Linked DNA regions of Homo sapiens: all the other regions are linked to region 2. The links are contacts of gene promoters, found by promoter capture Hi-C in human tissues and cell types (Jung and others, 2019). All regions are on one chromosome and are shown on one strand. Each heading gives the region's core, a stretch centred on a gene start or on the middle of the fragment in contact. The rest is flanking DNA. Distances are from core to core; before and after follow the strand shown.

Region 1 (4,077 bases), core at 10-2,509, 210 kb after region 2:
ACAACAACAATAACAAATACTTGATTCGAGGTGAAATGAGCGAGTGAAGAGAACTGGTTCTGACTTACACAAGTGACTGAAATTATACAATAAGGTAATTCTTAGCAGAAGAATACTCTCTAACTCTGAGGAAAGAGAATTGCCTGAGAGCCACATAAGCAGTGTATATACAATACTTTTCTGGTTGATAACAAGTATAACATTAAGGGCATCAACAAAGGCATGTCCATTTTTGAGTGCTACATTTACGTCACATGAATAAGCTGTGTATATTTCGCAGGCAGAAAAGTCATGGTGAGTTAGAAGCTGCCTCTCCAATTTTCATGTGTCCAATAAACTAGTGTGCAGATTTTGCTTCAGGAAATCGGAGGTCAAGGCTGAGTTTCCGAATTTCTAACGCGCTCACCAGTGATGCCAGTCCTTTGGGCCCAAGGACAATATTTTGTCAAAAATCCTGTAAGTGGCAAGCTTGGGTTTATCCCAGTTTTTCTAAACCATAAAGAGAGATGAGATTCTTCATCTTCTAAAGCAAGGCATATGCAAAAAGAATCTAAGAAGCAAAACCTTTCAGATTAAATGTGATTATTTATGCACATTAATTAGTAAATCTCCTCAAGGTACTTAAAAGAGAAAAAAATAAACTCCACAATGGAAAATCTGTCAGGGAGCTCTTTAAACAACTGAATAAAACTAATATCAACTGTAATAGGACAGATTTTTATCACGTGCCAATGCACAGAGAAGGACATATTACTGGTGTGATATTGGCCAAAAGGTCAATTATAATCTGAATCAAATCATACCGAAACCTTAGTGTTATGCAAAGTTCAAGAGACAAATAAATATCTCCCAGGTTCTGACAAATATCTCCCAGGTTCTGACAAATATTTCCCAGGTCCTGACAAATATCTCCCAGGTTCTGACAAATAAATATCTCCCAGGTTCTGACAAATAAATATCTCCTATGTTCTGACAAATATCTCCCAGGTTCTGACAAATATCTCCCAGGTTCTGTAATCTGTTTTCTTTTGTCTTGAGACTGAGTCTCACTCTGTAGCCCAGGCTGGAGTGCAGTGGCGCGATCTCGGCTCACTGCTACCTCTGCCTCCCTGGTTCAGGCAATTCTCGTCCCTCAGCCTCCGGAGTAGATGGAACTACCCACATGTGCCACCACGCTTGGATAATTTTTGTATTTTTTTAGTAGAGATGGGGTTTCACCATGTTGGTCAGGCTGGTCTCGAACTCCTGGCCCCAAGCGATCTGCCCACCTAGGCCTCCCAAAGTGTTGGGATTATAGGCATGAGCCACCATGCCCAGCAGTAATCTCTAATAGTGTATTAAAAGAGTCTTTCTTTAGCATTCTAAAAAGCAAGTGTCTTTTCATTTTTCTCTTTTCCAGAATGCTTTGAGTTATTCTGAGAGATAAATGTCATCTGGTTTAAATGTTTATTTTCTTAGTCCTGTTCTGCATGCAGCTTATGGAGCATCCAGATGAAACCTAAAGAGTGCACATTTCCCTTCTTTGCTGATATCCAAAAACCCACCCCATCCTCAAGAGGAATCCTGGGTATCCACAAGTTCAGTGCCACGAAGTGAACTTTTTAATACTGCAGGTCATAAAGTCATGGTAAGAATTCTTCATGGCATATAAGAAGTCAAGGTGAAGATAACAGAGAGACGGCTTTGGTATATAGAAAACAAATATTTTCAGAGACCCTTCATTATTATAAGAAAAAAAAGTAGTTGAAACAAACTTACTATGGAGAAACACCACAAGTAGAGAAGTAAAGGTTTCCAAATTCTAAACACATGACATTTCAGGAGCAAAAGTGGACACAACCCCTGACCTGAGATGCATTTACCTGAGCACCAGCCATTTCTTTCTCTTTCTCCTGCTTCTCTGGGATTTCCTCTTAGGAAAGATTCTCTGGACAAATCACACCTGCATCGTGAGAATATGCCTTTAAAGGTGTTAGCACAACCCCTTCACCTGCTACCACCACAACCATCAACAGAAAGACCAAGAAATACAGAAAAAGTCCACGCTTTTCTGTTCTTTATAAAAGAGATTCAGGAACAGTAAACTTCTACATGGAGATCAAAATGTGACTTTCTCTCTTCCTGCTCTCAGGTTCCCTCTCCTGCTAAACAACAGCAATTCTGCTTCAGCAATTGGAGTATAAGCTGCACTGAGCTGGCCTCTGAAACCTAGGCAAAGAAGGCCCTGTGACCTCCCTTTGGAACCAAGGCTGAGCTCAACTCGTACAAATGCATCTGAAACCCCCCATCACTGATTCTGGCCACACCTTAGAATCCCATGATGCATGTGACTTAAACAGCACTGGTGCTTCCACCCAAACCAATAGGCAGAATCTGTGAGGGCAAAGGTGAGGGCCTTTTTTTGAGTTGTCCATGTGATTTAATTAGAAGCCAGGCTGAGAACCATTTAGCTAAGCCTTGCTTCTCAAGCTTCAATGTGCATATGAATCTTTTGGTAATTTTGGCCCCACTCTAAGTCATGTGATTCTGAAGATTTCAAAGGGGTTCATGGGTTGGATTTTTTAACAGTTCTGCCATTAATGGTGATGCTGCTCCCCCAAGACTTGTGATCATTAACACTCAGCTAAAGAAAGCAGCCCCAGCACAGTCCCTTACACCCAACCCTCTGACCACAACATAAGTTCTTCTGGTGCAAATGGAGACAGCCAATCTCTATTCTGAAAGATTACATTATTTCCTGGCTCTTTAAAGTTTTCCAGGGCTGGAGAAGGAAGCAATGTCTGAGTCTGTCTGCATTTGGAAAACAATGTGTACACACGTATGAATGCAGTGTTTATTAAGCAGGCACGGGGTGCTCGGATGTATGTGACAGCACTGTGCTGGGCACCTCACGTCATGTGAGTTAATCCTCACCACACCCTGGGTGATGGAACCAAGTGTCCTGCAACTCTCAAGATATAGATGAAGGGACCAGGCTTTGTGGTTCCTCTTCTATTTTCCTATCATTAACGTTTTAAAAGTGTAGTGATAAAAGCTCCAGATAGACCAATGGAAGGGATACAGAGGGGATGAAGTGTAGTGCAAAGGCACTTTCCATTGTTGTGTTTATCTTCACTTTCTTGTGGCTTGTGAAGCAACTATTAGACCCACAGGACTGAGAAAGAGCTTGCTGGATACGATGTCTCTAACAGCGCTGGTGTTAGTAAAAAAGAAAAATTAAGGCTCCAAAATAGAGAGTCCTTTGATCCCATTTATCTGCTTTGGGGTTTCCGAAAATTCTGTGTATCAGTTCCGGAGAGGCAGCAGGAGTCAAACTCTGATTTAACTCTGTAGTTAAACTCCAAACTGATTTAACTCTGTAGCTAAACCCAAAACTCTGATTTAATTCTGTAGTTAACTCTGTCGGAGGAGAGTCCAGGGTGAAGCCAGACCTGGATGAGACTCAGAGAAGGAGAGTCTGGGCATGTCTGGGCAGGGAGAGGGCCCTACGCAGGATTCTGCTCTCTATGCTACTAGAGTATTTACAATTCTGTTTTTCCTAAAACTGCCCCCCACCCCAAAATTTAAATCCCAGGGTTTGTATAATTTTAATCTATTTTGGCCACTTCCTTGTCTATTTTATAACATAAAATAACAAGCAATTTAACCGAAACCTTTAGGATTTTCTAGGACAGATATGGTAGAAGCTAAATATTTATTTTTAGCCGGGCAAAAGCAACAGAAATAATACCACCACCACCTTGTCTGTCTGAATATCCCTTCAATATGACATCAGAACTCACAACAACCACATCAGGAAAATGGCCCAAATGAAGCAGAAGTCCCTTTGACCACTCCCTTCTTCATGCTGACCCCAAGACGCTGAATTCAATGATTTATCCAGTTACTGGAAATGGAAAAGTTTCTGGCTTGCGGGGACCATGGCTGCCTTCTCTGTTTTCCTAATGGCTACACAGGATGGAATCAATTAGTTTATCAGTTTGAATCTCCAGATCTCATTTTTGTTTTTTACTGAAGTACCAGAAAAACTGGAGTAATTCCCATGTGGATACCAATGAGGTTTCTTCTCTGAGGGGA
Region 2 (4,193 bases), core at 54-2,553:
CTTACTCCTGGGGTTGGGGAGCAGAGTTTCTGTTCAGTCTGGGATCTGGATCAGCCCTGGTGCAGGCAGACCCAAGAGCATCTATCTAGGATCCCAAAGGCTGGCCCACTTCTCCAGGCTTTGGGAGGCTGTATCAGGTGGGGTGGGACCCTTACAGAAGTCTTCCTGTAAAAGGCACCTTGAAGAGACTGGGGCAGACACACAGAGGGGAGCAAGTTGCGAAACGGCAAGAGAGGAAATCCACCCAGCCGCTTCGGCGGGGCAGACCCGCTCAGCCCAAGGATGAGGGAGGGGCTGGGCTCAGCCCAGGGACGAGGGAGGGGCAGGTAAGCCCACCCTGTGACCCCTCCATACCCCCAGGAGTCACCCCAAACCCTAACTCCAGTTGGCTTCTGACAGGAGGCAGCCCAGCGGTCTGGGTGGGGGTTGGGGGCGGTGCCTGGGAAGCCCAGGACGGGCCTGTTGCCCGGGGGGCTGCAGACTCCAGCCTCCTTCCTGCCTGCCCCACCCTCCTGCACCCCGCTCCCCGGGAGGAATCTTCAAGTGCACAAGACCCTCTTGAGGACTCAGGCACCTCAACAATCCCTAAGGCTCCACATCTTCAGGGGGTCAGTGCCCCAGAGATGGGGGCTGTGGGCAAGGTCCTTCCCTAGCCTGTAATCCAGGCAGCCCCCTGACTCTGCGGACTCAGACACAGCAGTCCTCCCAAGCCCGCAGCTGGGACGCCAGACTCAGATCCCAGACCCCCTGCAGACCCATCAAGACCTGGCTCCTTGGAGCCCGCGTCGGCCGAGCTGGGGGGACAGACCCCCTGATTGGCCAGGGTTTGTGGTGGTCAGACCCAGCCACCTTCCCTGGCGGTCCCGGCTCCTTTAAGCCCCACCAAGTGGGGAGCCGAGCTGGGCGCGCCGCTTCCCACTCGCGGGCCCCACCCGCCCCAACCCGCCAGGCGCCGACCCGTCCTGGCCCGGGGCGCCCCCAGGCTCCCGCGCTCCCCAGCTCCCCAGCGCGCGACCGGCCCCGCGGCGTGGTTCCCCGCACTGGCTACTGCCAGGGTCCGCGGGGCTGCGGCGCGAGCTCCTGGATCCCTTCGGCCGGCCCCCCGCGGCCCTCGGTTCGCTCCGGCCCTGCCCGGCGGGGCCCTCCGGATCCTTCCCAGCCCGCCATCCCCCCGCCGCCCTGCCGCCCCCCGGGCCGCCGCGCTCCTACCTCCTACCGTGCCGCGAGCTCGGTGCTCCGGGCCGGCCGGGCGCGCGGGGGCTCCACTGGCGGCGCGGGCCTGGCTGCAGGAAATGCCAGCAGATGGTCCCCCCGCGCGAGGCGGAGCGAGGGCGCGGCGGAGGGAGGAGGCCCAGGGAGCCCGGAGGCGGGAGGAGGAGGCGCGGCGGCCGCAAAACCCGGGCCGAATCGCCGCGCGGAGCGGGCGCCCAGGGGCTGCCCCCCACCGGCTGCCGCTTCTCCTCATCCCCCAACCCCCCGCGCGCGCTCCGGGGCTCACACCCACCCGGGCGGCCAGAGGTCGGGACACTCCGCTGAAAATGGCCAGGAGGCTTGGCGGGGTGGGCAGCGGTGAGTGGGGTCAGCTTCGTGGGGTTCTCCAACTTAGGGGTGCAGGCCCCCAGCCCACCCTAGCCAGGGTGCGAGGCGCCTCCTCTCCCTTCCTGAACCCAGGAAACTGTCGCCGTTTCTCCCCGTCTCAGGAGCCATCAGAACACAAGAGGAGCCCCAGACATCTGAGCCCGTTGTCCCTGCCCCTTATGTGCTAAGAAGGACCCTCAGTCACACTCTAACTGTACGTCTTTCTCAGGACCCTTTTGACAAGAACCTCCCCTCATGTGCATTTCTTCCTGTGTTTTCTCCTCACCTTCTTCTACCCCCCAGAGACCTTTTTAGACCCCTCAGTTCTCTTGTATATAAAAGACATTCTAATTCCCCTAAACAGCATCCCCTTGGGAGCTGAGAAGTCCTCCCCTGGCCCCTGGCTCCCTGCCTGTAGACCCTAAATTGGGTGTGGGCCCAGGGCTGGCCCCAGGGCGTTTGCATCCCTAGTGTCCAAGCCTGAGGTGCACTGCAGGTCCTTCCTATGGTATGTCCCCAAATGACCAGAAAAACTGGGAGCTGGGCTCGGGCATCCCCAGATGTAGGTAGACCCCAAGAGGGCGTGGAGTCTTTTCCACACAGAACCTTAACAGGGACAGAACTGACCCTCCGCAGAGAGCCCTGGGCTCCTCCCCAGGCAGAACTGCCACTGACACGTGTGTTTCTACGGTTTCACGCTGCAGTTGCATTCGGGAGGCCGCAAGCCTGGCTATCATGGGCGTCTGCAAGACCTCCCAGCAGGGCTGCGGAGGGCGAGCGGCCCAGGAAGGCTCCTTCCAGCACCTGAAGGGGGAACGGCACAGCATGCAGGTGCTCTGCCCACAACAAGCCAGACCCCTTCCCGTCTCAGCCCTGGCCTTGCCCACCCCGTTAGACAAGTTGGTGGGTATCCTCCTGGGGATAGCAGCACCAGCCGCTTGTGTGCGGATCACAGGAACCCACGGCTTACGGAGGCGAGTGGGCTGATCGGACTTGCCCTAAGCTTACCCCCAGGGCTAGCATTGCCATTCCATAGTCACCTTGTGAGGCCTTGGGATGCAGAACTGCTCAGTCAAGATGCTCAGGGCCATGGTGGGACCCTGCTCCGCGTGGCCTGTGGCAGGCGGCCTCTGCCTCTGCAGGAGAGGGTCTGTGCAGCTGGGATCCACATACAACTGCTGGGTCTGCTCTTTGAAGACTCCGCCCAAAGCTGAGGTGCTGCTGCCTGGTAACTTGCTGGTTGCTGGAGCCAATCCAAAGGGAATTAGGGAAGAAAACAAAGCCCCTATCCCTAGGGCGGAGGTCTCAGGGGCGGCAGTAGGGAAGGTTGCCAGTTGCTTGATGCTGGCTGTCCAGGGCCTGGGTTTCATGAAATGACACTGCTGAGGGCAGAGGTCAAAAGTCAAAGAGGCACCTGAGGGTGGGGGAAGGGGCCATAGATGACAGCAGGGTGGGGCTGGGGTGGAGCAGGACGAGGGTTGAGCCTCTCACTGGGTAGTGTCTGACAGCCAGATGGCCATGCAAGAAATGAAGAACACGCCACCTGCCAGGCTCAGTGACAGGTGTCAGTTGTCTGCCCCACTTCCCAGCAGGCTCTGCATTTTTCCAGAAAGCCCCATTTCCAGCCTCTTGCCTGGTTTTGGAGAGGCAGTGAGCCGAAGAGGTTGCCCCCAGCAAGAGGTAGGTCCGAATCCTGCTGCTGCCAGAAAGAAGCTCTGTCACCAGGCAGTGGCTTGTTCCTCCTGGGACCCCGCTTCCTCTCCTGTCAGATGGACACAGCATCTGTGCCTGGTGGCCAACGCAGGAAATGAAGGCGTCAGAGGTCTCAGAGATGGGCAGAGCCAGGTGCCAATGGCACCAGCTTTAGGGGGGCACGCCCAGTAGGCCCCACCATCCAGGAGCCCTTGAGCAGGTTTGTGCAACTGGCCGTGCCTCAGTTTCCTCATCTATAAATGGCGATGACCAGAGCAGTTTCCGCTGCATGAGCTGCCATAAGTCCCCAGTGGGCCAACAGACTTTGCAAGCGCTGGCTGTTGGTGGGCACTGGGGACCATGAGTGGACTATGGGAAGGAACGGCTTGCAGCGCCCAGCTGGTTAGTTTGGAATTTATGGTAATTCAGAAAAATATGTCTGTGATAAGTAAGAACTTAAAAAATGCTTTGCAAGGACAGTGCAATTTAAAATCAGGGCAGTTCCAATCCAAGTCTCCAGAATGGCAGTTCTCTGCTAGGGGCGGTTTTGCCTCCAGTTTCCAGGTGGCATTTGCCACTGCCTGGAGATAGTTCTGGCCGTCGTCATTGGAGGTTGCTACTGGTGTCTAGTGGGTAGAGGCCGAGGATGTTGCTAAACACGTTGTCATGCACGGGACAGCCTCCACCACAAAGGGTGACCCGGCCCCAAATGCTGGTCATGCTGAGGTCAAGAATCCCTGCCCCAGAAGTGAATACATGTCCACCTGCTGGCATCACTCCTTGGTTTCGGGTGGTTGGTCTAAGCCCCCAAGGCCTCCTGCTGATGGAGCCCCTACCCTGTCCCAGGTTCTTTGCATCTCATCTACTTCTCCTGACCCCGACTGAGGGGTGAATAAGATGGCTGTGGGCACCTTTCTCGTGTC
Region 3 (4,215 bases), core at 1,622-4,121, 210 kb before region 2:
TCCAAGGCTCTAAGGACAGCATTTTGCCCTTAAGGGGCTGTGCACAGGGGCTGCTCCAGATGCATCACCCACCTGGGCAGAGCAGGAGCTGCCACGTGCAGAGAAGACAAGACCAGGGTTCCCACATTCACCTCCTCCTCCAACAACTTTCTAGTGTTGGGGTACGGTCTAGAAAGTAACATTAGTAAAACACTTTATGCCAACACTTACTGAGTCATTGCTCTGTGCCAGGTGCTATGTTAAGGGCTTAACAAGTAACCAGAGTCTTTACCATGAGCTCTACTTACAGCTGAGGAAACTGAAGCTCAAGGAGGTGGTGGAGCTACTAAAGGGAGAATGGGGATGCGAGTCTGAGCAGTCTAATCTGAGCTGGCACTTCTAGCCTCTAACTGACACTGCTCATCAGTAGTACCTGTGCTGAACGTATTGTGAATGAAACGCACATGTACTATAAGCAAATGTGGCACAGTGCTCACCAGCAGTACAGATACCGCATATAAGTAAGCAAATAGCACACATGCATATTCAAGTCCTTTAAACTGACGGGTGTATGATCAAAACAGTTTCAGATAAGCTTTCCAATGTGTAGCCACTAGCCCTTAGCTCACTATTTAAATTTAAACTAAGGTAAATGAAATGTTCAGTTCTTCAGTCTCAGCAGCCATATTTCAAGTCCTCAAGTGGTCAGTCCTACTGCACTGGACCAAGCAGGCAGAGGACAGTTCCATCAACAGAGAAAGTTCTACTGGAAAGTGCTGGTCTAGAATTTGTAAAACTATGTCTTGGCAGCTACCTGACTGTCCATGTTCCCTGACCTGCAATCACCTCCCAACCTAGGGATGAGCCAGCAAGTTGAGTTTTAGAAGTTAAATGAACAGTCTAAGACCTAACAGCTGATAAAGAGCACGCTGGCCTATTCTCCCCACTGGTGGAACTCAGTACAATGGGAGAGGTGTGAGGAGATGTTGGCCTTTACTGCCACAGGGGGCTAAGGCCCTTGAACCCACCTAAGCTCTTGCCGCCCTGTCTGAAGCCCCAACAGACCAGACCTTCTAAGAAAAGAAACCTAAGAGCTCCACAAGAAAGAGAGTATCATCTAGAACATACTTCCAGTAACAGTCTATAAAACAAAACTTTATTTTCCACAGATCAAGAAGACTTGAAGCTGCTTGAGCCTTGGTGAGGATGGGAGTTTCTAAGCGGTACTTGGGCTGTGCACCCGCAAGTTCTGACTGTGGAAGAGCTGGCTTCCCTCAAGCCCAGAAAGGAAAGTGACATGCAATCTTGTTGTTTTCTTCGGGAGCACGGGTTTCTTTTTTTTCCTTTTTACCTAATTAGATAGAAGTTCAGGAATTTCTATTTCTTTTGGGTTGATGAACCACAGGCTAGCATAAGTCCACTGTCAATAAATGTTTGTTGTGGCCAGACCTCCATAAAAGAGATATTCCCTGTGTTCACAAGTTCCCTGAAGCTTAGGTTTTGAGAGAATATTGTTGAGTCACTAGGCAGGGCTCACATAGGAAACTGGCAATCACCTCTGAAACTGCTTCACAGACACCTGCTTTTCCTGCTCTGTTCCTCAGACTTCTCCTCTTCAAGCGTATTCCCCCCACAACAAGGACAGCAGCTTGGACTACATATCTGGCTGATGATGTAATAAAAAGATTAGGCATGGGGGTTTCCTAAGCCACAATTCAGGGCCACTCTGCACCAACAGAGATAAGCACCCAGGTGGAAGCCCCCCTTCCCCGAGCCTCATACATTGTCATCATCTTCTATGGCCTCCCCAGTGAAGTACAGCACAGCCCGCGGGACTATCCGCTCACGGAAAAAGTGTCCAATTTCAAAATCAGAGGCTAATGTGAATTCAGAATCTTCATCCTGAGGAGGAAAAACCTACGTGTTAACTCATTTTAATGGGATAAAAACATTCACTTCACCACCCTCAGCCAAACCTCAGCCCCTCACTTTTGATTTACTTAACTTAAAACACCAAACTCCTGCACTGCTGGGGGACAGCCACTAGACACTCAAAGCCCCTTTAAAACAACTTTAAGTAGCTTTAAAGAGCTACTGAAGCAAAATGGCAGAGAAAGTGGGAAGTGAGGGCCCTACAGCTCCACAACTTGTCCAAAGGTCTCACCCAGAGTAGGCGGTATCAGTCTCACATATGGGAAACAGGCAGTATTAAAGCACTGCACATTTGCTACTGAAATCAACATATGAAACACATACTTTTACTTAGATGTGTAATGATTTCAAATTAATCCCAGAGTTTTAGGAAACAGAAATGGATTTTTTTTTTTTAAGAGACAGGGTCTTATTCTATCACCCAGGTTGGAGGGCAGTGGTGCAATCACAGCTCACTCCAGCCTCAAGCTCCTGGGCCCCAGCGACCCTGGAACTACACAGTGCACCACCATGTCCAGCTAATTTATTATTTTATCTTTTGAGACGGAGTCTTGCTCTGTCGCCCAATGGAATACGGTGGTGCAATCTCAGCTCACTGCAACCTCCTCCTCTCGGGTTCAAGTGATTCTCCTGCTTGAGCCTCCTGAGTAGCTGAGATTACAGGCGCTGCCACCGTGTCCAACTAATTTTTTTTTTTTTTGGTATTTTAAGCAGAAACGGGGTTTCACCATGTTGACCAGACTGGTCTTGAACTCCTGACCTCTGGTGATCCACCCACCTTGGCCTCCCACAGTGCTGGTATTACGGGCGTGAACCACCATGTTCGGCTGGCTAATTTATTTGGTTTTAATTTTTTGTGGAGATGGGGTTGTGCTATGTTGCCCAGGCTGGTCTCAAACTCCTGGACTCGTGCAGTCCTCCCACCTCAGCCTCCCAAAGCATTAAGATCACTGGCATACCCAGTCCACACACAGCCAGGACTGGACTTTTTTTAACAAGTAGACAAGTAGACATTCACTCAGGAGAGACTTCAACAGGAAAATAAGACTATTAACAACAAATCTTACCAGTGATTCTCCATCCCCGGATGCTAGAAAAAGAAAAGACAAAACATATTTAAATTACAGTGACAACTCCCAGAATTTTAAAGCCCACACAGGAGGAAGCTGTGCTGGTAGATAAAATGTAACATTTCTCACCTCGAGGTTTAACAGAAATCCCCAAAGCCTTGCATCTCCTCACAGACATCTTTGCAAGCTCCATCCACCACTTCTGAAGCTGGCCTGAGTGCCTCTATGCCCCCCTCCCTTCTCCTCCTCCATCATGTGCCATGGGCTGGCACTCAAGCTTGAGAAGATCATTTTGAGAGAGTTAATATATTAACAGGAGGAATGGCAAACAGCCCCCAGGCTGTGGCCATTCAGTGCATTTGTGCTTTATGGGGAAACTTAACTCATGTCCCGCAGAACTATACATGATGGTGCAGGAAAGAGAAAGTCCTTAAGCCTTATAAGCTGTGAGTGTTACTAAGGCACTGCAAATCAGCGAGACAGAAACTGCATTTCTGTTTGTTTGGAGAGTGCTGGAATGCCCACCAGGGGCCCCTGTAGAGTGGCGCAATTCCTCAGCGAAAGCTGATGCTCAGACGAGCTAAGCCCACCAAGACAGATAGGGACTTCTAACCACACTCAATGAAGCTGTGCAACGTTCAACTGGTAGAAGATCCAACCCCCTGATTTTAGAAACATTTACTACAAGACCCTGAGCTTCATCAGGAGTTGAATGTTTACTCTGCTTAGTCTCATACCTGCCTTTTCAATCTTCACTGGGCTCTCCTCTCTGAGTCTCCCTTCCCATTAAGCGACCACAACCCTGGCAGCACTTGCTGTTTGCTGCTGAGACATGAATGTTGGGTGCGTAAACACCACCCATGAGTGAGGCAGAGTTCCCAAGCCTCGGTGTGCCAGCATCACCCAGGGGTTTTAGACATGGGTTAGGAGCATGGCTGGGTGTCTAAATGCTGGAGCAGCATGCTCCCCAGGGCACTCTGGCCCAAGTCATGAATAGTACAAGGACTCTGAACACTCATACTTCTGGACTGGCTTTGCAGTTTTAAGGACAAAGGAGCTGGACTCACTAGCTAATGCCTCCTTCACTTCACACCACAGGAGTCCATTTTGTCTGTTCCTTCACTACCCCATTACCTATTCCGCAGCCATCCTCAATTTTTTTCAAAGCACTTACCATTTGGTATTATGTGTTTGATTACTTTAAAAGTGGCTTTACTGATGGGATTTACATACC

Evidence for each region. Contacts are between HindIII fragments. The study calls those that stand out against the background at their distance.
Region 1: a fragment that was not itself captured here is called in contact with the fragment with the promoter of OSBPL5 in region 2 in 1 of the 25 tissues and cell types used here (mesenchymal stem cells).
Region 3: a fragment that was not itself captured here is called in contact with the fragment with the promoter of OSBPL5 in region 2 in 3 of the 25 tissues and cell types used here (adrenal gland, liver and mesendoderm cells).

The regions. Positions count from the first base shown.
Region 1 is chr11:3,371,715-3,375,791 of GRCh38, forward strand. All of the region lies in intron 1 of ZNF195 (zinc finger protein 195), which reads right to left. Among named protein-coding and RNA genes, the nearest start is that of ZNF195, 5.4 kb to the right of the region's middle. The HindIII fragment of the contact is 4,685 bases long and covers 1-3,602 here.
Region 2 is chr11:3,164,007-3,168,199 of GRCh38, forward strand. It overlaps OSBPL5 (oxysterol binding protein like 5), which reads right to left and starts at 1,304. Exons shown (of 22, transcript NM_020896.4): 1 at 1,210-1,304. RefSeq lists enhancers at 1-42, 1,786-2,498. The HindIII fragment of the contact is 28,319 bases long and covers 1-4,193 here.
Region 3 is chr11:2,952,766-2,956,980 of GRCh38, forward strand. NAP1L4 (nucleosome assembly protein 1 like 4) reads right to left here. Exons shown (of 16, transcript NM_005969.4): 11 at 2,979-3,001; 12 at 1,762-1,881. Among named protein-coding and RNA genes, the nearest start is that of SNORA54, 9.0 kb to the right of the region's middle. The HindIII fragment of the contact is 6,881 bases long and covers 1-4,215 here.